7 separate regions of the Homo sapiens genome follow, and regions 2, 3, 4, 5, 6 and 7 are each linked to region 1. Evidence: promoter capture Hi-C in 16 types of primary human blood cells and fetal thymus (Javierre and others, 2016). All regions are on one chromosome and are shown on one strand. The core of a region is centred on a gene start or on the middle of the fragment in contact, and the rest is flanking DNA. Distances in the headings are between cores, read along the strand shown.

Region 1 (3,205 bases), core at 522-3,021:
CTATTTCTCCTCTTGCCCCCGCCCCCCCCAGGTGGCCGGTGGGGCTGATAGCCATTGCGGGGTCGAGGAGGAGCAGGGGGACCCAGCTCTGTCCCGCCCCCTCCCCGGCGCTCCTCCCCCACGTCCGGGGGAGCGGCTCGCCCCGGGGGATCCGACAGGCGGGCCTCCCCATGCGACTGCGCCTGGGGGCCGCCCCCTCGGTGCTGCTGCGCCTGGGGACCACTGGAGGAGGTGGCCGCGGCCCCGGGGCTTTCCCGACCGACCGCAGCGGCTGGGGACCCCGCAGATGGCGCGCAACGACCCGGACCACGCTCCGTCCCGCCGCGGAGCTCCCCAGAGGCGGCCTCTTGGTGCGGTGGCACCGTGGGGCCGCCCCCTCCGCCCGACTCATCTTTGAGCGGCGGCGGCGGGGCCGGCACCAGAAACGGCTCCTTCTCCGCCGCCATCTCGATCATTTCCTCCCCTTATTCCGTGCCAGTCGGGGTAACGAGGGGGATCAGGGGGCCTAACCCCCCCTGCCTGGACCCTGCTCCCTTCCCCCCTTTCCCGAGTGCGCGCGCAGCTCTGCTCTTCACGCCTAGTCTCGCGCCCAAGCGCCTCCCCGCCAAGTGCGCCCTACTAGCCCGCGAGACCAAAACAAGAGGCCCGCGAGACCCGAACTACTCGAGGACTCAACCGCGCGTGCGCCGACCCCTTTCTCCTCCGCCACTACCACCCGGCCGCGAGCGCGCACGGTGAGCGCGCGTTCCCTTCGCCCGGGAACCACGCATGCGCACTCCGCCACCACCCTGGTTGCGCGCGCATCAGACTACGAACCAACTTAACGGCTCTGGGAGTTTAAATATAACCCCCCCACAGCCCCCGCAAAAGCCCACCACCCCAAACTGACACCCTACTTCCCTGCGCAGCTATGTCCGGCCCTACTGATCTCCTTTGTCTCTGCCGCGCGATCCCACCCACCGTAGGCGGGGGACGGGAGCTGGTGTGAAAAGGTCTCCTTGACACCCGACCCTTGTTCCTGAGGAATGAGTCTCAGCGGTCTCCGCCCGGCTCTAAATCCAACAACCTCCCCACCCCGCCTCCTTCCTCCCCCCTAGTGGGCAGCGCCTGCGCACACCCTTTTGGGCTTGCGCGGGTAGAGGCAGCACGTGCTGAAACTGGCGCCCCGCCCCCCGTCTTAGGGGTTGGGCCTGTGACGTCGCTTCCTTAAGTTTGGTAAACGCAGCGTGCGTCAGCGCGATCCGGAGGGGCGGGGCTTCCTGACGAAGGGCGGGGCTCATGAATTATTCATGAGCTGTTGGTAGCAAACCTCCCCCCCTCTGCCCACCTTCTTAGAAGCGCTTCCGAGGGAGCGGAGGGGAGACCCTACAAAGCCAAGGAAGGGCGGGAGTGGAACTGGGCTCAGTAAAACGCGATAGGTCATTATAACTCACCCCCCTTGAAAATATTCTCTGCTGAATTGGGGAAAAATAAAAAGCACTAAAACAGCCGATGTTGTCCAACTTCCTCTTCCCCCGAAACGGCTGAGTCGTTCTCTGGCTCCTCTACCTTCCCCCAATCGCAATCACCTGGAGACGCCACACCACGCCTTCCTCTCCGCCTCAACACCCACGACCCGAACCCCAACGCATCCGCCCACTCCCGACGCCCGCTCACTGGCCCGTCAGTTCGCGGGCCTCTCAACACCCACCGCGGCGCCACGCCGACTTATATACCAGCGAGTGTGGGCGGGGACGGGGGTTCGGTCCGCGCTGGGCCCCCCCAGCTTCTGCCAATGAGGAAGAAGCGAGTCTACGCCGTTTTCCCGGGGAGATGCGCCGCCCGGTCTCCCTGCCAGCGGAGTGCTGGGCCGAGGACAGGGCGGCAGGGGTGACAGTGGGGTCCAGGAGAGTCTCAAAATCCTAAGGTGAGGGCGTGAAGGAGACCAGCAGGAAGAGGAGGAATTAGAGAACGGAAAGAGGGAGGAAAAGGCAGTCTGAAACAGAAAAGTTAGTAGATGTGCTTCAGGAACAATCAGGCGCCGCGGCCGCCGCCTAAAAATATGTGACACCAAAGAGGATTCTGGGATTTGTAGTTTTCCCGGGACGTTCGGGTGGAAGATGGCGGATTTACCTCAGCTGCGGAAACGCAGACGCTGTTTCCAGTTGCGCATGCGCCTCGGCCCCGCGAGCGCACCGCCCTCGGGTGGAGCTAGTGCTCAGGGCGTCCTCGTGCCTTTTCTTGGTGGCGGGAAACCTGGGTTGAGGTGTGAGGGGCTTGCGGAGTCGCTGCGGCAGCTGGTTCCGCCCATCGCCTTTAGGTCCTCCTTGCTCCTGAAGGTAGCCAGCTAGTTTCTGGTTGTAGGTGAAGGTGCTAGGCGCTGCCAGTCCTGGCACCCGTTGCCTGAGGAGAAACTTTCTCAGGGCGACAACCAGCCCTTCGCCCTTTTTCCTCAGAATCTGTCGCCCCCAAGAAACAGACAAAAAAAAAATAGCCCAGTCTCCTGGCGGGCACCAACGATATGAGTGAGAATAAGGATCACGGGGCCTCGGCAGGAGTGGGGGTGGAGGGGAGATTCCCTCATGGTGGGAGGAAGGAAGGGAGGGGACGGGGAAGAGAGAGGGGGACGTGTGGCTCAGGGACACCGACTTGAACCGCTATCCCTGAGAGAGAATAAGGGGTGAGGGAAGAGAGGAAAAATGGGAGCGCCCCACAAATGGGAAGAACTTCTCTGCAAAACTTCTTCCCTTTGGATTGCAGGTGGATTTGGAATTGGGGCTTTTTTTTTTTTTTTTTTAAAGACTGTCTCGCTCTGTCGCCCAGGCTGGAGTGCAGTGGCGCAGTCTCGGCTCACTGCAACCCCCACCTCCTGGGTTCAAGCGATTCCCCTGCCTCAGCCTCCCGAGGAGCTGGGACTACAGGCGCCCGCCACTGTGCCCGGCTAATTTTGTATTTTTAGTAGAGACGGGGTTTCTCCATGTTGGCCAGGCTGGTCTCGAACTCCTGACCTTAGGTGATCCGCCCACCTTGGCCTCCCAAAATGCTGGGATTACAGGCACGCGCCACCGTGCTCGGCTGATTTTTTTGTATTTTTAGTAGAGACGGGGTTTCACCGTATTGGCCAGGCTGGTCCCGAACTCCTGACTTAAGGTGATCCACCCGCCTCTTCTTTCTTGTTAAAAGTTTTAAATCGGGCTTGCTGAGCTTGTGCACAAACACGAAGGAA
Region 2 (3,205 bases), core at 483-2,982, 410 kb before region 1:
AGCCTCTTGCTATTCCAACAGCACTCAAGAGCCCTTCCTCTATCCCCAGCACTAGGGAGGGGAGCAGGATGGGAAAGTCTGCATGAAATGTTAAAGGGTCAATCACACTCTTTTGTGTATGTGTGTTTTTGTTTTTTTGTTGTTTTTTTTTTTGAGACGGAGTCTTGCTCTGTCACCCAGGCTGGAGTGCAGTGGTGCAATCTCAGCTCACTGCAACCTCTGCCTCCCGGGTTCAAGCGATTCTCCTGCCTCAGCCTCCCAAGTAGCTGGGACTACAGGCGCGTACCACCACACCCAGCTAATTTTTGTATTTTTAGTAGAGACGGGGTTTCACCATGTTGGCCAGGATGGTCTCGATCTCTTGACCTCGGGATCTGCCCACCTCGGCTTCCCAAAGTGCTGGGATTACAGGCATGAGCGACCGCGCCCGGCATTTTTTTTTTTTTTAAAGACAGAGCCTCGCTTTGTTGCCCCGGCTGGAGTGCAGTGGAACCATCTCAGCTCACTGCAACCTCTACCTCCCAGGTTCAAGCGATTCTCCTGCCTCAGCCTCCCAAGTAGCTGGATAACAGGCACGCACCACCATGCCCAGCTAATTTTTGTGTTTTTAGTAGAGACTGGGTTTCACCATGTTGGCCAGGCCGGTCTCAAACTCCTGACCTCAGGTGATCCACTTGCCTTGGCCTCCCAAAGTGCTGGGATTACAGGCGTGAGCCACTGCACCCGGCCAATCACACTCTTTTGTTTGTTTATTTTAATTTTTTTTGTTGAAACGGGGTCTCACTCTGTTGCCCAGGCTGCAGTGCAGTGGTGTGATCACGGCGGCTCACTGCAGCCTCCACCTCCTGGGGTCAAGCAATCCTCCTGTCTCAGCCTCCTGTATAGTTGGGATTACAGGCGTGAGCCACTGTGCCCAGCCCATTATTTTTATTTTTGAGACAGGGTCTTGCTCTGTTGCCCAGACTGGAATGCAGTGGTGCAATCTCACTACAACCTCTGCCTCCTGGGCTCGGGTGATCCTCTCACCTCAGCCCCCCGAACAGCTGGGACCACAGGCGTGCTCCACCACGCCTGGCTAATTTTTGTAGAGATGAGGATTCATCATGTTGCCCAGGCTGGTCTTGTACTCCTGGTCTCAAGTGATCTGCCAGCTGCGTCCTCCCAAATGCTGGGATTCTAGGTGTGAGCCACCGCACCCAACCCTTATCTCCTGAATCCTCCCCGGCTCCATACATGCGTGCACCATCCCCCCCAACACACACACACTCACACATACACGCCTATCTGGGTTCAAACCCACATAGTCACTTGGATGCTGCACTGGTTTCCCCGCCTTCAGTCTTCATTCCTTTCAGTCTATTCTCCAAAATTGTATAAGTGGGATCTTTCTCTACAAACCATGCAATGTTGCTTCTTGGCCTAAAACCCTTCACTAGCTCCCCAGAGCAGTCCTGCAAAAACCCGTAATGACCTGAGGCTGGCCCTCACTCACCTCTCCAGTTCACCCATGGTCACTGTCCTTGCCCTCTCTGACCTGGCGTTGTGAACTCTGGCAGCTCTCTGAATGGGGCGACCTCACAACTCTGCCTTTAAACTCCTTTCCTGCCAATCTCTAGGACTCATTCAGACATCATCACCTTCTGCAGAAAGCTCACCTGAAACCTGCATCGGCTGTGCTTCCTGCGTGATCCTGTAGGGTCCTCTGTGCACCACAAGTTAGGCTGTGCGCTTAGCCACCTGGATGCTGGTGAGGCCCCGTGGCTGTTTCTACCCCTGACTTGTCTAATCCTGGAAGGTAGAAAATGACTTGGTGTCCTCCATTTTCAATTTTTCCTTCTTTCTTTTTTTTTTTTTTTTTTTTTTTTTTTTTGAGACAGAGTCTCGCTCTGTACCTGAGGCTGGAGTGCAGTGGCGTGATCTGGGTTCACTGCAAGCTCCGCCTCCCGGGTTCCCGCCATTCTCCTGCCTCAGCCTCCCAAGTAGCTGGGACTACAGGTGCCCACCACCACACCCGGCTAATTTTTGTATTTTTAGTAGAGATGGGGTTTCACCATGTTAGCCAGGATTGTCTCGATCTCCTGACTTCGTGATCCGCCCACCTCAGCCTCCCAAAGTGCTGGGATTATAGGTGTGAGCCACCACACCCAGCTATTTTTTCTTTAGAGCTGGGGTCTCACTATGTTGCCCAGGCTGGCCTGGAACTCCTGGGCTCAAGTGATCCTCCCACCTCGGCCTCCCAAAGTGCTGGGATTACAGGCATGAGCCACCATACCTTGTCTGTTTTTTTTTGTTTTGTTTTGTTTTTTTGCTTTTTGTTTTGTTTTGCTTTGCTTTGAGACAGAGTCTCGCTCTGTCACCCAGCCTGGAGTGCAGTGGTACAATCTTGGCTCACTGCAACCTCTGCCTCCTGGATTCAAGCAATTCTCGTGCCTCAGCCTCCTGAGTAGCTGGGATTACAGGCGTGTGCCACTGTAACTGGCTAATTTTTCTATTTTTAGTAGAGACGGGCCAGGCAGGTCTTGAACTCCCAACCTCAGGTGATCCACCCGCCTCGGCCTCCCAAAGTGCTAAGATTACAGGTGTGAGCCACTGCGCCCAGCCTTTTTTTCAACTTTTTTTTTGGCCTCACACAGTGCTAGAATTAGGTAGGAGTTTGAGACCAGCCTGGACAACATAGCAAGACCTCATGTCTACAAAAAATAAAAATAAAATAAAATAAATTAGCCAGGCCAGGTGCAGTGGATCACACCTGTAATCATAGGACTTTGGGAGGCTGAGGCTAGACAATCACTTGAGCTCAAGAGTTCAAGACCAGCCTGCGCAACATAGTGAGACCCTGTCTGTACAAACACTAAAAATATTAGCTAGGCATGGTGGCACACGCCTGTAGTCTCAGCTACTTGGGAGGCTGAGGCAGGAGGATCGCTTGAGCCTGGGAGTTCGAGGCTGCAGTGAGCCTCGATCGTGCCACTGCACTCCAGCATGGGTGACAAAGGGAGACCCTGTCTCTTAAAAAAAGAAAAAAAAAGGTATAAAATCTTTGGATTGAGAGAAGAAATCACAGCTGACCTCAAATGTTTAAAATATGACAAATATCATAAATATTATACAAGCTAGAAAAATAACAACATTTATAGTAAAGAAGACTGATATAGCCCTGGAATACTTGCATTTACTACCTTTTTCTTAGATGTGTACTCTTTGA
Region 3 (3,205 bases), core at 217-2,716, 410 kb after region 1:
ATGGCATGATCTCAGCTCACTGCAACATCCGCCTCTCGGGTTCAAGTAATTCTCCTGCCTCAGCCTCCTGAGTAGCTGGGATTACAGGCCATACTTATTTTTTTTAATCTAGTTCCATGAAGTCCAGCTTCCTTTCTTTGGTTCCCTGCCTTCATTTTCTCCCTTCTCTCCCACAATCCACCTTTCAGATTATTCTTTCTAAAACTCTACAGCCTTGCAGTTAATACTTTCCAGTGCCTGGTCCCAATTTTCCCTCAAGCTTCTTTTCCCATCAATCCCCCCATAAACCTTCCCTATGCAACAAAAGCCCTCTCATCAGTATTTCCTATATATGCCTTGTATTTTGACTGCCATCCTTTCCTCACATCACACTCCATGCCTGGGACTTCCCCCCGCAGTCCTCTCTGCCTTTTCAAATCCTACTTAACCTTTAAAGCTAGCTAAAACGCGACTTGCCTCTTATCACTGTTCAAGAACCCTCTCATAACTATAACAGTAAGAGCCAATGTTTACTGAGTGCTTTCTAGGTACCGGGTATTTAAGCATTTTCACTTGACCACATAACAATCTTAGCAGGTAGCTACACTTATCATCTCACTGTATAAAGAACTGAGAGGCTGAGCGCAGCGGCTCATGCCTGTCATCCCAGCACTTTGGGAGGCCAAGGCAGATAGATAACCTGAGGTCAGGAGTTCGAGACCAGCCTGGATAACATGGCAAAACCCCATCTCTACTAAAAATACAAAAATTAGCCAGGTGTGGTGGTGCAATGCCTGTAGTCCCAGCTACTCGGGAGGCTGAGGCAGGAGAGTTGCTTCAACCTGGGAGGCGGAGGCTGCAGTGAGCTGAGATTACACCACTGCACTCCAGTCTGGGCAACAGAGTGAGACTCCATCTCAAAAAAAAACAAAAGAAGAACTGAGATATACTGCCATTAAATAACTTACTCAAGGTCACACAGCAAGTATATGGTAGAGGCAGAATTTGAAATAAAAGTGATTCCCCAATGTAAACTCTTTAACCATTATACAAAATTTATCTTGTACCTGACATGTGGGGTATACAGATCCTAAAATGAAGGCCTATGAACGTGACAATGAAGAATCAATCAGGGCCAGGCACGGTAGCTCACGCCTGTAATCCCAGCACTTTGGGATGCCAAGGAGGGTCGATCACCTGAGCTGAGGAGCTCGGGACCAGCCTGGCCAACATGACGAAACCCCGTCTCTACTAAAAATACAAAAATTAGCTGGATGTGTGGCACATACCTGTAATCTCAGCTACTCGGGAGGCTGAGGCAGGAGAATCACTTGAACCTGGGAGGTGGAGGGTGCAGTGAGCTGAGAACGCGCCACTGCACTCCAGCCTGGGTGACAGAGAGAGACTCCTTCTCAAAGAGAAAAAAAAATCACTCAGGAACGGGCCTTATCTACCACCCAGTTTTCACTGGAGGGTCACTATGTGACTGAAGCCCTTCCTGGGAAAGGGAGGAGACACAGCAGAAGATTCAAGTGGGGACTGTCTACAACATAACCAGGTGGGATCTTCAAACATGGTAACTGAGCAGAACTAGTGTGATAGCGAGCCCAGCCACCAGAAATCCCTACTTTTGTGAAAGTTTTATCCTGCCTTAGCTATTGAGCAGGACACTTCTTGGGTCAGTGCGAAGATGCGACTCTAAGGAGGAAATGAGTCCAGGGGGAAATAGACACAGACATGGGCACATTCCCTCTGCCCACAACTGGGACAGATCCTCCTCCTCACCTTCAGTATCTCTCTGCTCCTACTCTGGGGTGCAGGGAAAAGCCATCACAGCAGTGGAAAGGCTGGGTTTTATTTGAGGTTTCCCAGATGATCTGAGCACATACTCTTCTGTCTCTAAAGGCCCTAATACTCTTCACCAAACATTTGCTAGGTAATTTCTCATGATGCGCCGGGCGCAGTGGCTCATGCCTGTAATCCTAGCACTTTGGGAGGCTGAGGTGGGCGGATCACGAGGTGAGGAGATCGAGACCATCCTGGTAACACGATGAAACCCCGTCTCTACTAAAAATATAAAAAATTAGCTGGGTGTGGTGGCGGGCGCCTGTAGTCCCAGCTACTTGGGAGGCTGAGGCAGGAGAATGGCGTGAACCCGGGAGGCTGCGATTGCGCCACTGCACTCCAGCCTGGGTGACAGAGCGAGACTCTGTCTCAAAAAAAAAAAAAAAATTTCTCATGATGTTTCTTTCTCTGTAATTTTTCTTGCCTTCTTCCTCAACTAGATTATTAAGAGCAGTCCTCTTTGTACTCCTTAGACCACTTAGCATGATTCCTTGCAAGCCTCAGTTTCAAAAATACACTTGACTGAATTGACAACGTTACTATTTTTTAAAAGCCCGATCATTCTACATTCAATGTTGCACTCAAATTTGTTCCATGGACTAGTTGGATGAGTTTCAGGTTAGCATTAAAGCTGCTCCACCCCTTACTAGTTGACGGCCTTAGGCAAGTCAACAAGTTAACCTCTCTATGCGTCAGTTTCCTCATCTGTATAATGGGAATAAAAATCAGCATTTGTCCCATAGAGTTGCCGTGAGGATTAAATGAGGTAATAGATATAAAGCACTTAAAATAGTGCCTGGCATTTAGTAGGCACTACAGAAATGTCTTAATTTTTTTCAATAAGCTTAAAAGATGTAACTGTACATTCCAATTTTCAGCCTGCTTAGAAGATTAAGCAATGGGACAACTCCTGTAATAGTGAAAGCTGCACAGGCAATAACTGAATTCTAGTCTCCCACAAGTAAGTGGCACATCCCTGAGAGAGGTATTTAACTTCTCTGGCATTTTGTATCTTTATCAGTCAAATGGGGGTAGGGTGGGGGTTCCAGATAGTAGGAAACTACCTCTGGGTGAATATGGGCTGAAAAACATACTGACATACCATCCACTTTAAATAAAATTACCTCCAGCAGCTAAGGATACCTCAGTTCTCACCTAGGATAAACAGAAATGATTTTCTTAAACAACGGCTTGAAGTTACAAGCTCAAAGGCTGTGTTCCAAACAGCCCAGTATTTTTCCAGGGCATAGTCTTGAAAATGTAAACAAAGGCTGGGCACACAGTGGCTCACGCCCGTAATCCCAGCACTTTGGGAGGCTGAGGTTGGCGGACTGCCTGAGATCAGGCGTTCGAGACCAGCCTGGCCAACATGGCGAAACTC
Region 4 (3,205 bases), core at 278-2,777, 340 kb after region 1:
GTAATCTCAGCACTTTGGGAGGCCGAGGTGGGTGAATCACCTGAAGTCAGGAGTTCAAGACCAGCCTGGTCTCGACCAGTAGAGATGGTGAAACCCCATCTCTACTAAAAATACAAAAATTAGCCAGGCGTGGTGGTGCATGCCTGTAATCCCAGCTACTCGAGAGGCTGAGGGAGGAGAATCACTTGAACCCGGGAGGCGGAGGTTGCAGCGAGCCGAGATCACACCACCACACTCCAGCCTGGTTGACAAAGCAAGACTCTGTCTCATAAAAAAACCCAAAATTCACATCTGGCTAGCCTAGGCTGCTCCACCCCCTCCTTACCCCTAAACCTAAGCAAGTTGCACACACTGCTCCTCCTGCCACCCCTACAAAGAGGGGTACAGACACCTAGAAAGAGCCAGACATACTCTGGCTCTAGGTGTCTGTATCCCCACCCAAAGTGTAAGCTCCTAGAAAGCAGGTGAAGAACTGTGTTATGACCCTGAACAGCCCCATATGGTGATAGTTGTAATTTACAGGGGAATTATGCAATCTCTCCGTTTAGGAGCCTGGATGAAGGAAACTTGAAGGGGCCAGCAACCCTCAATGGAACGGACTTGAGAAATCCTGCAGGAAGAGGGGTCTTCTCGCCAAAGGGAAGTTAAAAAGGAATTTATTTTATTCTAGTCCCCAGTGATAAACCAACCAGGTCTGGACAAACTGAGAGGGTTGTCAAAGAAAAGTACCTAATGCCTTGTTTCTATTTGGAAAAACCAGGTCAGAAAAATGTATCTCTTTGGTGAGATGTTGGCTCACTGCAACCTCCACCTCCTGGGTTCAAGTGATTCTTGTGCCTCAGCCTCCCAAGTAGCTGAGATATCAGGCTTGCGCCACCACACCTGGCTCATTTTTGTATTTTTAGTAGAGATGGGTTTTCAGCATGTTGGCTAGTCAGTTCTCAGACTCCTGGCCTCAACCGATCCACCTGCCTCGGCCTCCTAAAGTGCTAGGATTACAGGTGTGAGCCACCGTGCCTGGCCAGAAAAATGTCTCTCTTTAAAGAATGCTAGGCAGCTTCCAAGGAGCATAGTGCTTCTCAGCTAGATAGAAGGCTAAAATAAAAACAAGATGAGAATTATTCTAGGGTTAGTAAAGTTGATCGTTTGCACTGCTCTCTCACACATTAAAGAACTCCTTTGCCTTGTTGTTTCAGGTGCTTTTGAAACATTGTTCAGATAATTATACAGCTCATAAAACAAGAGATTATTGTGGAATTTAAGGATGACTTTGACATTGAATCAGTTGATTGTGCGCATTTTAGAACTAAGTTTGCTAAACGTTTCTTTTTTTTTGTTTTTGTTTTGTTTTGTGTTTGTTATTGTTGTTTTTGAGACAGAGTCTTGCTCTGTCACCCAGGCTGGAGTGCAGTGTTACAATCACAATTCAGTGCAGCCTCAACCTCCTGAACTCAAGTGACTGTCCCATCTCAGCCTCCCAAGTAGCTGGGACTGCAAATGCGTGCCACCACGCCAGGCTAAATTTTGTATTTTTTGTAGAGATAGAGTTTCGCCATATTTGTTTGTCTCAAAACAAACAAACAAACAAACCAAAAAAATATCCCCACCCCAAAAACAAAAACGAACAAAAAGCAAGTGCTCCTTTTTGGTATGGGTCAGTGGTTATCTATTCACCTATCAGTCATTAATTTAACAAATATTTGGGAGTGCCTACCAGGCAGCAGGTACATCACTAAACAAAACGAAGTCCTGACCTCATGGAGCTTATACCCTAGTTGTAGGAAACAGACCATAAACATACTTCAGGATACGTATATATATACAGAGATGGAGTATCCCTCTGTCGCTCCCAGGCTGGAGTGCAGTGGTGCGATCTCGGCTCACTGCAACCTCCACCTCCCAGGTTCAAGCCATTCTGCCACCTCAGTCTCCCAAGTAGCTGGGATTACAGGTGCCTGCCACCACTCCCGGCTAATTTTTGTTTTTGTATTTTTAGTAGAGGCAGGGTTTCACCATGTTGGCCAGGCTGGTCTCAAACTCCTGACCTCAGGTGATCTATCTGCCTCGGCCTCCCAAAGTGCTGGGATTACAGGCGTGAAGCACTGCACCCGGCCAACAAATTGAATTTTAAAGATTGAGTTGGCTTTATTAGGGATTCATGAACTGGCAGCACCCAGTCTACAAAACAGAAAGGAAGCCAGGTGTGATGGTGCGTGCCTGTGGTCCCAGCTACTCTGGAAGCTGAGGAGGGAGGATCGCCTGAGTCCAGGAGGTTGAGGCTGTAGTGAGGTAGGATCGCGCCACTGCACTCCAGCCTGGGTGACAGAGTGAGACCCTGTCTCTAAAAAAAAAAAAAAAAAAAAGACTTCATATGTTGAAGAAGGCAGAGGAAAGCATGAACATGATGAGGTGCTTTCCTTCTATTGATGGCTATTGTGATACCTCATTTCTTATCTTCTTAGTTTAAAAGGATTTAAGGCTGGGTGCAGTGGCTCACACCTGTAATCCCAACACTTTGGGAGGCTGAGGTGGGCGGATCCCTTGAGCTCAGGAGTTTGAGACCAGTCTGGGCAACATGGTGAAAACCCTCTGTCTCTACAAAAAAGTAGCCGGGCGTGGTGGCATGCATCTGGGGTTCCAGCTACTTGGGAGGCTGAGGTGGGAGGATCACTTGACCTTGTGAGGTGGAGGTTGCAGTGAGCCGAAATCACAACACTGCACTCCAGCCTGGGTGACAGAGTAAGACCCCCGTCTCAAAAGAAAAAAAAAATTTAAACAAGAAACACACAGGAGGCCGGGCGCGGTGGCTCACACCTGTAACCCCAGCACTTTGGGAGATTGAGGCGGCAGATCATTTGAGGTAAGGAGTTCGAGACAAGCCTGACCAACATGGTGAAACCTTGTCTCTACTAAAAATACACACAAATTAGCCGGGTATGGTATCACACGCCTGTAGTCCCAGCTACTTGGGAGGCTGAGGCACGAGAATCAGCCTGGGTGACAAGAGTGAGACTCCCTCTCAACAACAACAACAACAAAAAAAAAAAAAAAAAAAGGAAAAAGAATAAAAGAAACACATGTCAAAGGAAATCCAGCATAGAGTAATTTATTGCAAAAGGAAAATAGTATTTTGAAAGTTAAGTGCAGAGTAGACAGTACACCCTGGGAGAGAGAGAGATAGAGAGAGAGTTAGTTCAGGGAGGGC
Region 5 (3,205 bases), core at 231-2,730, 320 kb after region 1:
GGCTGAGATGGGAGAATTGCTTGAGCCCGGGAGATTGATGCTGCAGTTAGCCATGATTGTGTCCCTGCACACCAGCCTGGGTGACAGAGCAAGACTTTATCTCAAGCAGACAAACAAAACCAGAATCAGCTGTCCCGCCCTTTCTCCCTTAGGTCCATGAGCTGATTCCAGCTGTGATGACCTGCATCGTGAGCAGACAGTTGTGCCTGCGACCAGATGTGGACAATCACTGGGCACTCCGAGACTTTGCTGCCCGCCTGGTGGCCCAGATCTGCAAGCATTTTAGCACAACCACTAACAACATCCAGTCCCGGATCACCAAGACCTTCACCAAGGTGAGCCAGGAAAACTTGAGCGTCATTTGCTTCATCACTGGCCACCTCTGGTTGGGGGAAGTCACACTGGAAACAAGGGGGCAGAGGGAAGAGGGACTGGAACTTGTGGGGGTCTAAGGGTCTTGAGGCTTGTCTGTAATACCTTTTTTTTTTTTTTTTGAGATGGAGTCTCGCTCTTGCCCAGGCTGGAGTGCAGTGGTGCAATCTCTGCTGACCGCACCCTCTGCCTCCTGGGTTCAAGCGATTCTTCTCCCTCAGACTCTTGAGTACTTGGGATTACAGGCACCTGCCACCACAACTGGCTAATTTTTTTGTTTTTGTTTTTTTGAGATGGAGTTTCGCTCTTCTTGCCCAGGCTGGAGTGCAATGGTGCAATCTTGGCTTACCACAACCTCCGCCTCCTGGGTTCCAATGATTCTCCTGCCTCAGCCTCCCGAGTAGCTGGGATTACAGGCATGTGCCGCCACACCCAGCTAATTTTGTGTTTTTAGTAGAGACGGGGTTTCTCCATGTTGGTCAGGCTGCTCTAGAACTCCCGACCTCAGGTGATCTGCCTGCCTTGGCCTCCCAAAGTGCTGGGATTACGGGTATGAGCCACTGCACCTGGCCACAACTGGCTAATTTTTGTATTTTTAGTAGAGACAGAGTTTCACCATGTTGACTAGGGTGGTCTGGAACTCCTGACCTCAGGTGATCTGCCTGCCTCGGCCTCCCAAAGTGCTGGGATTACAGGTGTGAGCCACCACGTCTGGCCTCATTGTAATGTCTTAATGATTTACAAGGAAAGTGTCTATGAAAGACTTAGGTCCCTGTCAATCATCCTTTCAGACCCCTTCATCTTAGTTTATTTCCTTCCCCTTACAGAGCTGGGTGGACGAGAAGACGCCCTGGACGACTCGTTATGGCTCCATCGCAGGCTTGGCTGAGCTGGGACACGATGTTAGGCCTCTGGGAGGAAGAAATGGGGGAGGGGACACAGTCATGAGGTTATAGAGGGCACTGTACCCCCATCTGGGAGACCCTGGTGACCCTCCGGCTTTTGCTTGTCCTTTTCCCTTCTAACAGGTTATCAAGACTCTGATTCTGCCCCGGCTGCAGCAGGAAGGGGAGCGGATCCGCAGTGTGCTGGACGGCCCTGTGCTGAGCAACATTGACCGGATTGGAGCAGACCATGTGCAGAGCCTCCTGCTGGTGACTGAAGCCCCTGTCCCCACACCTGCCCACTGAGACACAGGCAGTGTTTAGCAAGCATATGGCATATTTTATTCACTTACTCCCATCTTTGCCTCATGTTTTCAGAGGACATTGCAGAGTCTGATACTATTTTACAGATGGAAAGACTGAGATTAGACTGAGTAAGAAATAAGGGGGCTGGGCATGATGGCTTCTGCCTGTAATCCCAGCACTCTGGGAGCCTAGGAGTATGAGGCCAGCCTGGACAACGTAGCGAGATCCCACCTGCAAAAAAAAAAACCAAAAAGCCGGGAGTGGTGACGTGTCTGTGGTCCCAGCTACTAGGGAGGCCGAGGTGGGAGGATTGCTTGAACCCAGGAGTTCAAGGCTACAGAGAGCTATGATCGTGCCACTGCACTCCAGCCTGGGTTACAGAGGGAGACCACCGCCCCCCAAAAAAGAAGGGTTTAACACGCTCAGCCTGTGGCATTTGGACCATCCTTCCCCAATGCTCCTGTTACTCTGTGGTCTTCTCTGTACAAGGCAAATGCGCTCTTGATTAACCATCCTGCCACAGTATTTAGCAAGTTCATTCACACATTAGTGCCCATGTTTTCTTTTTCTTTTCTTTTTTTTTTTTTGAGATGGAGTCTCACTCTGTAACCCAGGCTGGAGTGCAGTGGTGCGATCTCAGGCTCACTGCAACCTCTGCCTCTCAGGTTCAAGCAATTCTCATGCCTCAGCCTCCCAAGTAGCTGGGACCACAGGCACGCGCCACCATGCCTGGCTAATTTTTTGTATTTTTAGTAGAGACGGGGTTTCACCATATTGGCCAGGCTGGTCTTGAGCTCCTGACCTCAGGTGATCTGCCAGCCTCAGCCTCCCAAAGTGCTGGGATTACAGGCATGAACCACCACACCCAGCCATTCTTTTTTTTTTTTTTCTGAGACAGTCTCACTCTGTCACCCAAGCGGGAGTGCACTGATGCAACCTCTGCTCACTGCAGCCTCCACCACCTGGGTTCAAGCATTCTAGTACCTCAACCTCCCCAGTAGCTGGGACTACAGGTGCGTGCCACCATGCCTGGCTAGTTTTTGTATTTTTAGTGGAGATGAGGTTTCTCCATTTTGGCCAGGCTCTTGACCTCAAGTGATCCACCCACCTCAGCCTCCCAAGTGCTGGGATACAGGCCTAAGATGCTGCACCTGGCCCCGTGCCCATCTTTTCTTATGAGAAAGCCCACAGTGTTCTGTACACACACTAATAGTTCAGCATAATTTGGCCTTCAACAGGGGCACTGAGATGATAAGGAATGTCCTTTTTTACCCCATCCCCAAGGTTCTTCTCAAGAGTGTCACCAGCCCTCCCTCTACCTGGCTTTTTTCCCCAGCCCTCCCTCTACCTGGCTTTTTTTCTGTTCTGCAGAAACACTGTGCTCCTGTTCTGGCAAAGCTGCGCCCACCGCCTGACAATCAGGACGCCTATCGGGCAGAATTCGGGTCCCTTGGGCCCCTCCTCTGCTCCCAGGTGGTCAAGGCTCGGGCCCAGGCTGCTCTGCAGGCTCAGCAGGTCAACAGGACCACTCTGACCATCACGCAGGTCCGTGGCCGGGTGGGGAGGAGGAATAGGAGGAAGCAGAGGAGAACCCCTGTGTGGGACAGGCACTTGCACACAGCCACATGTGCCCTCAGTCAGTA
Region 6 (3,205 bases), core at 398-2,897, 290 kb after region 1:
TCAGCCTCCCGAGTAGCTGGGAGTAGGTGCGCACCACCGTACCAGCTAATTTTTGTATTTTTAGTAGATGTGGGGTTTCACCATGTTGACTAGGCTGGTTTTCAACTCCGGGCCTCAACTGATCTGCCCGCCTCAGCCTCCCAGAGTGCTGGGGATTACAGGCATGAACCATCGTGCCCCACCCAAAGGGGAGATATCTAAGCTGCGTTCTCAAAGAGGACTTTGTGTCAGCCAGGTACAGAGTGTCAGAAGGGCACTCACGGCTGGGGAACAGAGATGCCCAGGTATAACATAAATCACACAGAAAAATGTTTGAGTTGGGGATGGGATGAGGCAAGAGGTGAGGCAGCAGAATAAAGCAAGAAGGTCCCCAAGGACTTCATACACCGGGCTCAGATTTGTGCATTATAATTTCTAAAAATGGCTTCAGATAAAACTGAACAATTCATTTCTCCCAAAGCATCTCAGCTGAAGCTCAGGCTTTATTTTGTAAAAAAGGTTTGTACATTTTGGAAGGCTGATTTCCTGGCAGATGGGACTAACGCGCTTCAGGAAGGTGTAGGTTTCTAGACACACGAAGTTACTTCCTGGACTAGCAGCAGGGCTAAGAGCCAGTGACTTGCAATATATACCCTAGGGGAAAGCAGGTGCCTGTCACCACCTAGATATGGCTTCAGGTGAAGATTTTTGTGTGTGTGTGTATTCAGCTCCCAACCTTGTTTGATCACTCAATGGAACAGGTAGCTGAATGTGACCACAGCTTATGATGGAACCTACTGACCTGGAAAGAAACCAGCATGCTGAACCACTACCTTATAAACCCTTGAGCACAACCTTCCTCCCTCAGTTTTTGCAACAATGACCCTACTTTACCCTCAGGGACTCTATTATCTCAAGTTTTCTCCAAACAACTCTACTTTCGTCTTTGTACCTTGTATTAATATTTTAGTTAACAGGACTTTTTCTCCAGACAAATTTGTATCTTACCTTACAGGGAAATAAAACATTTTACTTTTGGCACTAGAAAAAAATATGTAAATATATGTGTTTAAAAAAAAAAAAAGTGGGCCGGGCGTGGTGGCTCACGCCTGTAATCCCAGCACTTTGGGAGGCCAAGGCGGGCGGATCACAAGATCAGGAGATCGAGACCATCCTGGCTAACACGGTGAAACCCCGTTCCTACTAAAAAATACAAAAAATTAGCCGGGTGTGGTGGCAGGCGCCTGTAGTCCCAGCTACTCCAGAGGCCAAGGCGAGAATGGCGCGAACCCGGGAGATGGAGCTTGCAATGAGCCGAGATTGCGCCACTGCACTCCAGCCTGGGCGACAGAGTGAGACTCCATTTCAAAAAAAATAATTAAAAAAAAAAAAAGAAAGAACAAATTTTAAAAAGCAAGAAAACATCTTATAACCTTTAGTGTTGGCCTTGCTGCTAGAAAACGTAAGTCTAAACATATTGCTGTGGCCGGGTGCAGTGGCTCACCTGTAATCTCCGCACTTTGGGAGGCCGAGGCAGGCGGATTACCTGAGGGCGGGAGTTCCAGACCAGCCTGACCAATATGGTGAAACCCTATCTCTACTAAAAATAAAAAAAATTAGCCAGGCATGGTGGCATGCGCCTTAGTCCCAGCTATTTGTGAGGCTGAGGCAGGAGAATCACTTGAACCCAGGAGGTGGAGGCTGCAGTGAGCCAAGATCGCGCCACTGCACTCCAGCCTGGGCGACAGAGGGAGATTCCGTCCCAGAAAAAAAATAAATAAAATAAAAAACATATTGGTCACATGAAGCAACTTTTTAATTTTTTAATTGTTTATTTTTTTGAGATGGGGTCTTGCTCTGTTGCCTAGGCTGGAGTGCAGTGGTGCAATCATAGCTTACTGCAGCCTCCAACTCCTGGGCTCAAGTGATCCTCCCACTTCAGCCTCCTGAGTAACTGAGACTACAGATGTGCGCCCCCATGCCCAGCTAATTTTTGTATTTTTTGTAGTAATAGGGTCTCACTTTGCTGCCAGGCTGGTCTCAAACTCCTGAGCTCAAGCCATAGAGCTCAATATACCATCCATCCCTGCATAATTTCTTTATATACTTAGGTACTGCCTTCAAGTCCAGTTTCTTTCTAGAAAGCAGAGAAACGCAACCCTCTCCCCAGGGCATTGCTTTCTTCTACAGATATCCAGTAGAAAAGGCTTTCTGGGCTGGGCGTGGTGGGTCACACCTGTAAATCCGACCTTTGGGAGGCCAAGGCGGGCGGATCACTTGAGGTCAGGAGTTTGTGACCAGCCTGGCCAACATGATGAAACCCCATCTCTACCAAAAACACAAAAATTAGCTGGGTGTGGTGGCGTGTGCCTATAATCCCAGCTCTTCAGGAGGCTGAGGCAGGAGAATCGCTTGAACCCGGGCGGCGGAGGTTGCATGGCGCCACTACACTCCAGTCTGGGTGACACAATGAGACTCCGTCTCAAACAAACAAACAAACAAAAATGCTTTCTGGTGGGTGAGTGGGAGGAGGAGGTGATTATTCTTTTCCTGGGGGTCTGGACCATTAAGTTCCACAGTCATTAGGTTCCTCTTGCCGGCAGCCTTATTCCTTCTTTGCGCTTGCATTCCCAGACTCTACATTTACTCTACTAAGAAGTGTGGTTCTCTCCTTCCTCAGGCAGCTGCCTTTCTCCCCACTGAACTTCCTTCTGGGTGCTTGACCAGCCACATCTTCCACACATTTTCAGATGCTGTACTTTGGCAGTAGGTGAAACATCACCAGGACGCTACCCTGTGAGTTTTTTATGAAAAGAGGACACAAGGCTTTGGGGACTTACAGAGGGAGGGGAGCAAGGGTTGAGGAGTATCCTGCAATGGGGGAAGGGGATTTAAATTTCAGAAAGAAAATGTAGGCAGGGGAAACAGACACATGGACAGACTCAGGTTTAGGGAGCAGTGTATTTCTTCTATTTGTCAAGCAATCAGTATGGATTAAAATCATGATCTGGGGCTGGGCACAGTGGCTCATGCCTGTAATCCCAGCACTTTGGGAGGCCAAGGCGGGCAGATCGCCTGAGGTCATGAGTTCGAGACCAGCCTGGTCAACATGGTGAAACCCCATCTGTACTAACAATACAAAAATTAGCTGGGCGTGGTGGTGGGCACCTGTAATCCCAGCTACTCGGGAGGCTAAGGCAGGAGAATTGCTTAAACCTGGACAACG
Region 7 (3,205 bases), core at 246-2,745, 260 kb after region 1:
GGTGAATGGCTGGGGCCCCAAATCCAGGAGATTTTCATCAGAGGTGGGTGGGTGTTCACAATATTTATTTTTTCATTTGGTAATGGGAGGGGGGCCTGGGGGTATTTATTTAGGAGGGAGTGTGGTTTCCTTAGAAGGTATAGTCTCTAGCCCTCTAAGGCTGGGGCTGGTGATCAGCCCCAACAGAGAAAATGAGGAGTTTAGAGTTGCAGCTGGGGAAGGGGTTTGAAGGAAGTTGGAAGTGGGGAGGGGTGGGGGCATCTGGTCTCAGAAATGGACCAGCTGGATGCAGGGCAGGGGACTGAGGGTGCTTGAGTAGGATGTGAGACTTCATGGGCCTGGGTTCTGTTGAGTTTTTTCAGTATCAATTTCTTAAACCAAATTTTAAAAAAAACAAGGTGGGGGGGTGCTCATCTCGTGACCTCTGCCACCCACATCCTTCACAAACTCCATGTTTCAGTGTTTGAGTCCATGTTTATTCTGCAAATAAATGGTAATGTATTGGACCCCATGTGTGGCTTCTGTGCTGTCACCATCAGTGCCTGAGCCCTGGCTCCTAGCAGAGGTCTCAGAGCCTCTGTGACTGGCTCATTTTCTGCCGGCTTTTCACTTCCCTTGGCACCTGTCCCCCAGGAGGCGGGCCTAGACAATAACCTCTGATCTCCAAATTGCCCACCCTCTGGGCCTCTGAGCATCTTCGTTTGTACAACAGGGAGAATTGTGGGGACCAAATAGAATCTGTGTGAAAAAGCACCTTGTCACCTGCAAAATGCTCTTTGAACATGAGGCTTTTTTTTTTTTTTTTTTGAGATAGAGTCTCGCTGTTGTCGCGAGGCTGGAGTGCAATGGCGCGATCTCAGTTCACTGCAACCTCCGCCTCCCCAGTTCAAATGATTCTCCTGCCTCAGCCTCCTGAGTAGCTGGGATTACAGGCGCCTGCCACCACAGTCAGCTAATTTTTGTATTTTTAGTAGAGACGGGGTTTCACCATGTTGGCCAGGCTGATCGCAAACTCCTGACCTCAAGCGATCCACCAGCCTTAGCCTCCCAAAGTGCTGGGATTACAGGCGTGAGCCACCGCACCCGGCCACGAAGCATTATTAAGGTGACCACACCACTGCCCCCTGCCTTCAGGATGGGAGGCCTTGTTCTCTGAGTGTCAGTCTCTGGCTACCTTGCCACGTCCTTGACAATGTCTGCTTTCAAATATCACTTTCTCCTTCCTTCCTTCTTTCTTTCCACCGCCTGAATGAATCTTTTGTTCTGCGGCAAGCCAAGAGAAAATGGTAGGATTGATTCCCAAGTGTGAAAGCGGGGGCGGAAGTGGTGTCTTCCAAGAGGAGTCTGGGTGCCCTGCCGAAGAGGGGAAGATGCAGCGAGGGAGAGACCTAGAACCGCGATCAAAGCTGCAGCAGCTGCTGGGGCTGGCGGCACAAAGGGAGGAGGGAGGAGCCTGGGCGCTGAGAAAGTTCTTGGGGAAAGTTGAGCTGAGCCAAGAGTCGGGCGGTGGCTGGGATGGGCGGGAGGGCCCGGCCCGATTTCCCTTGCTGCTCCCCTTGTGGCCTGGTGAGTGGGAAGTGAAACCAAGGATAGGACCAGTGGAGGGACCCTCTAATTTATGGGAGGAGACATGAGGGGTTCATGGAACCCCAGCGGGGGCAACTGGGCAGTCACCAAAGCTGGAGGGGACAGAGGGCTGGGATCTCCAATCATGGGAAGGGAGAGATGGATGGAAGGAAATGAAGAACTCTGGATAGGGGAGACGCGGCTAGACCCCAGGGGCTGTGATCAGGGAGGGAATTGGGGAGTGATGCCAGAGAGGGCAGGTCTCCGGGAGTAAAAGTGTGGCTTCTCTCTGCTTGGGGTTACCCCTGGCTCATCGGAGCAGGGAGCTGTCGGGGCTTGTTGGAGGGGCCGTGGTCCCTGATCGCGAGTTGTAATCTGAAGGGGCGGGGCTGGACTCCCGGTTGATTAGGAAGCTCGGGCTTCAGAAGGAACTCTGCAGTTAGTGTTTGCGCCTTTCTCCTTATCTTTGTGTCATAGTCTCTCTGTCCCTCTGTCTCTCTCTCTCTGTTTCTCTGTGTGTGTGTGTGTGTGTGTGTGTGTCTCTCTCTCTTTCTGTCTCCCTCTCCAGCCCCACCCTTTCAGTCTCCTCCGGGTGCACTGATAAGGTTGGAAAGTGGAATGGTGGGTAAGTCCAGGGATCTGGGCTTTATAAGTAGCCACACGTCTCCCCCAGCCCCTGTCATACATGGGGGTCTGCCCCGTGCTGAGACAGAGAAAAAAGAGGCGCGGGAATTTATAACCCAATGGCTCTTACCCATTGCAATGCCACTCCTGGAAGTCCAACCTCCCTTCCTCCTGCCTGGGTTCATACACCTGTGTCCTGTCTGATCCTCATTCCCACTGTATGGCTTCCCTTCCTGGTCCTGGGATAGGGCTCTTTATCCCCATCTGTGACAGCCAGAGGGGCTCTGGAGGAAACCAGGTTCCCGACCATGGTCTGACCTGACTGTGTTAATGAGCTGATTGATCTGATCTCTCTCTCTCTTGCTGGCTGTTTCATTCACGAGCTGGGGCTTTTTCTCTCCTTCCCTTATAAATCCCCAAGGCTCAGGGACAACTGTAGGTGGGGAGCGGGAGGAACTGGAGATAAGAAAGTGATAGAGCAGAGACAGTAGTTGTGGGGCCACCTAGGAGAGTCTGGGTATAGACAACATCCCCAGCCACTCCCCTTCCCTGAAGGAGGTCTCAGCTGCAGCAGGAGAGAAGGCTGCCTCTGCCTCTCTCCTTAGACTTCCCTTCTTCCCCCCTCATTTCCCTTCTAGACGCTGACAGAGGCAAAAATCTGCTAACTCAGGGGGCAGACTCAACCAAGACTGTGAGCAGGCCTGGGGAATGACCCCCCGATCTCCAACCAGTGCCTTCCGCAGCTGCACGGCTGTCTCCAGCTGTCTCTGCCCCTCTTCCTGGCCCTGGCTCCATCTCTCTGTCACCTCACCCTTCCCTGTGCCACATGGGCCCTCTCTCTCCTGCCAGGACGCTGCGGCTCTGGGGACCTCGGAGCCTGGGGGTGGCTCTGGGAGTCTTCATGACCATTGGCTTTGCACTCCAGCTCTTGGGAGGGCCCTTCCAGAGGAGGTGAGTTCCCACTTTGCCCCAACTCCTTCTAGACGCCCCGTACTTGCTCTTCCCCATCCCACCT

What was found. Contacts are between HindIII fragments. The CHiCAGO score rates a contact against its expected background, and 5 or more counts as called.
Region 2: a fragment that was not itself captured here is called in contact with the fragment with the promoter of ZCWPW1 in region 1 in 1 of 17 cell types (endothelial precursors); the score reaches 5.7 in endothelial precursors.
Region 3: a contact is called between a fragment that was not itself captured here and the fragment with the promoter of ZCWPW1 in region 1, in 2 of 17 cell types (total B cells and neutrophils). The highest score is 5.5, in total B cells.
Region 4: a fragment that was not itself captured here is called in contact with the fragment with the promoter of ZCWPW1 in region 1 in 4 of 17 cell types (total B cells, naive B cells, non-activated CD4 T cells and 1 more); the score reaches 7.3 in total B cells.
Region 5: a fragment that was not itself captured here is called in contact with the fragment with the promoter of ZCWPW1 in region 1 in 1 of 17 cell types (total B cells); the score reaches 5.7 in total B cells.
Region 6: a contact is called between a fragment that was not itself captured here and the fragment with the promoter of ZCWPW1 in region 1, in 1 of 17 cell types (activated CD4 T cells). The highest score is 5.6, in activated CD4 T cells.
Region 7: a contact is called between the fragment with the promoter of GAL3ST4 here and the fragment with the promoter of ZCWPW1 in region 1, in 2 of 17 cell types (neutrophils and total B cells). The highest score is 5.4, in neutrophils.

Annotation. Positions count from the first base shown.
Region 1 is chr7:100,427,269-100,430,473 of GRCh38, reverse strand. ZCWPW1 (zinc finger CW-type and PWWP domain containing 1) reads left to right here and starts at 1,771. Exons shown (of 18, transcript NM_001386010.1): 1 at 1,771-1,906. MEPCE (methylphosphate capping enzyme) reads right to left here and starts at 643. Exons shown (of 4, transcript NM_019606.6): 1 at 1-643. The coding sequence starts at 455. RefSeq lists silencers at 1-423, 2,244-2,293 and enhancers at 694-833, 1,854-2,083. The HindIII fragment of the contact is 9,299 bases long and covers 1-3,205 here.
Region 2 is chr7:100,832,598-100,835,802 of GRCh38, reverse strand. It overlaps a transcript of SLC12A9 not described here. Among named protein-coding and RNA genes, the nearest start is that of EPHB4, 6.7 kb to the right of the region's middle. RefSeq lists an enhancer at 1-526. The HindIII fragment of the contact is 4,427 bases long and covers 1-3,205 here.
Region 3 is chr7:100,017,413-100,020,617 of GRCh38, reverse strand. All of the region lies in intron 1 of ZKSCAN1 (zinc finger with KRAB and SCAN domains 1), which reads right to left. Among named protein-coding and RNA genes, the nearest start is that of ZKSCAN1, 3.4 kb to the right of the region's middle. The HindIII fragment of the contact is 2,409 bases long and covers 262-2,670 here.
Region 4 is chr7:100,083,033-100,086,237 of GRCh38, reverse strand. No RefSeq gene overlaps it. Among named protein-coding and RNA genes, the nearest start is that of ZNF3, 2.9 kb to the right of the region's middle. The HindIII fragment of the contact is 4,834 bases long and covers 1-3,205 here.
Region 5 is chr7:100,108,269-100,111,473 of GRCh38, reverse strand. It overlaps AP4M1 (adaptor related protein complex 4 subunit mu 1), which reads right to left. Exons shown (of 15, transcript NM_004722.4): 15 at 2,435-3,205. TAF6 (TATA-box binding protein associated factor 6) reads left to right here. Exons shown (of 15, transcript NM_139315.3): 10 at 153-335; 11 at 1,200-1,274; 12 at 1,401-1,526; 13 at 2,934-3,107. Among named protein-coding and RNA genes, the nearest start is that of AP4M1, 8.2 kb to the right of the region's middle. RefSeq lists a silencer at 621-848. The HindIII fragment of the contact is 8,380 bases long and covers 1-3,205 here.
Region 6 is chr7:100,135,531-100,138,735 of GRCh38, reverse strand. No RefSeq gene overlaps it. Among named protein-coding and RNA genes, the nearest start is that of MBLAC1, 10 kb to the right of the region's middle. RefSeq lists an enhancer at 845-904. The HindIII fragment of the contact is 6,909 bases long and covers 1-3,205 here.
Region 7 is chr7:100,166,907-100,170,111 of GRCh38, reverse strand. GAL3ST4 (galactose-3-O-sulfotransferase 4) reads left to right here and starts at 1,495. Exons shown (of 4, transcript NM_024637.5): 1 at 1,495-1,566; 2 at 2,829-3,141. The coding sequence starts at 3,017. It overlaps GPC2 (glypican 2), which reads left to right. Exons shown (of 10, transcript NM_152742.3): 10 at 1-506. The HindIII fragment of the contact is 24,826 bases long and covers 1-3,205 here.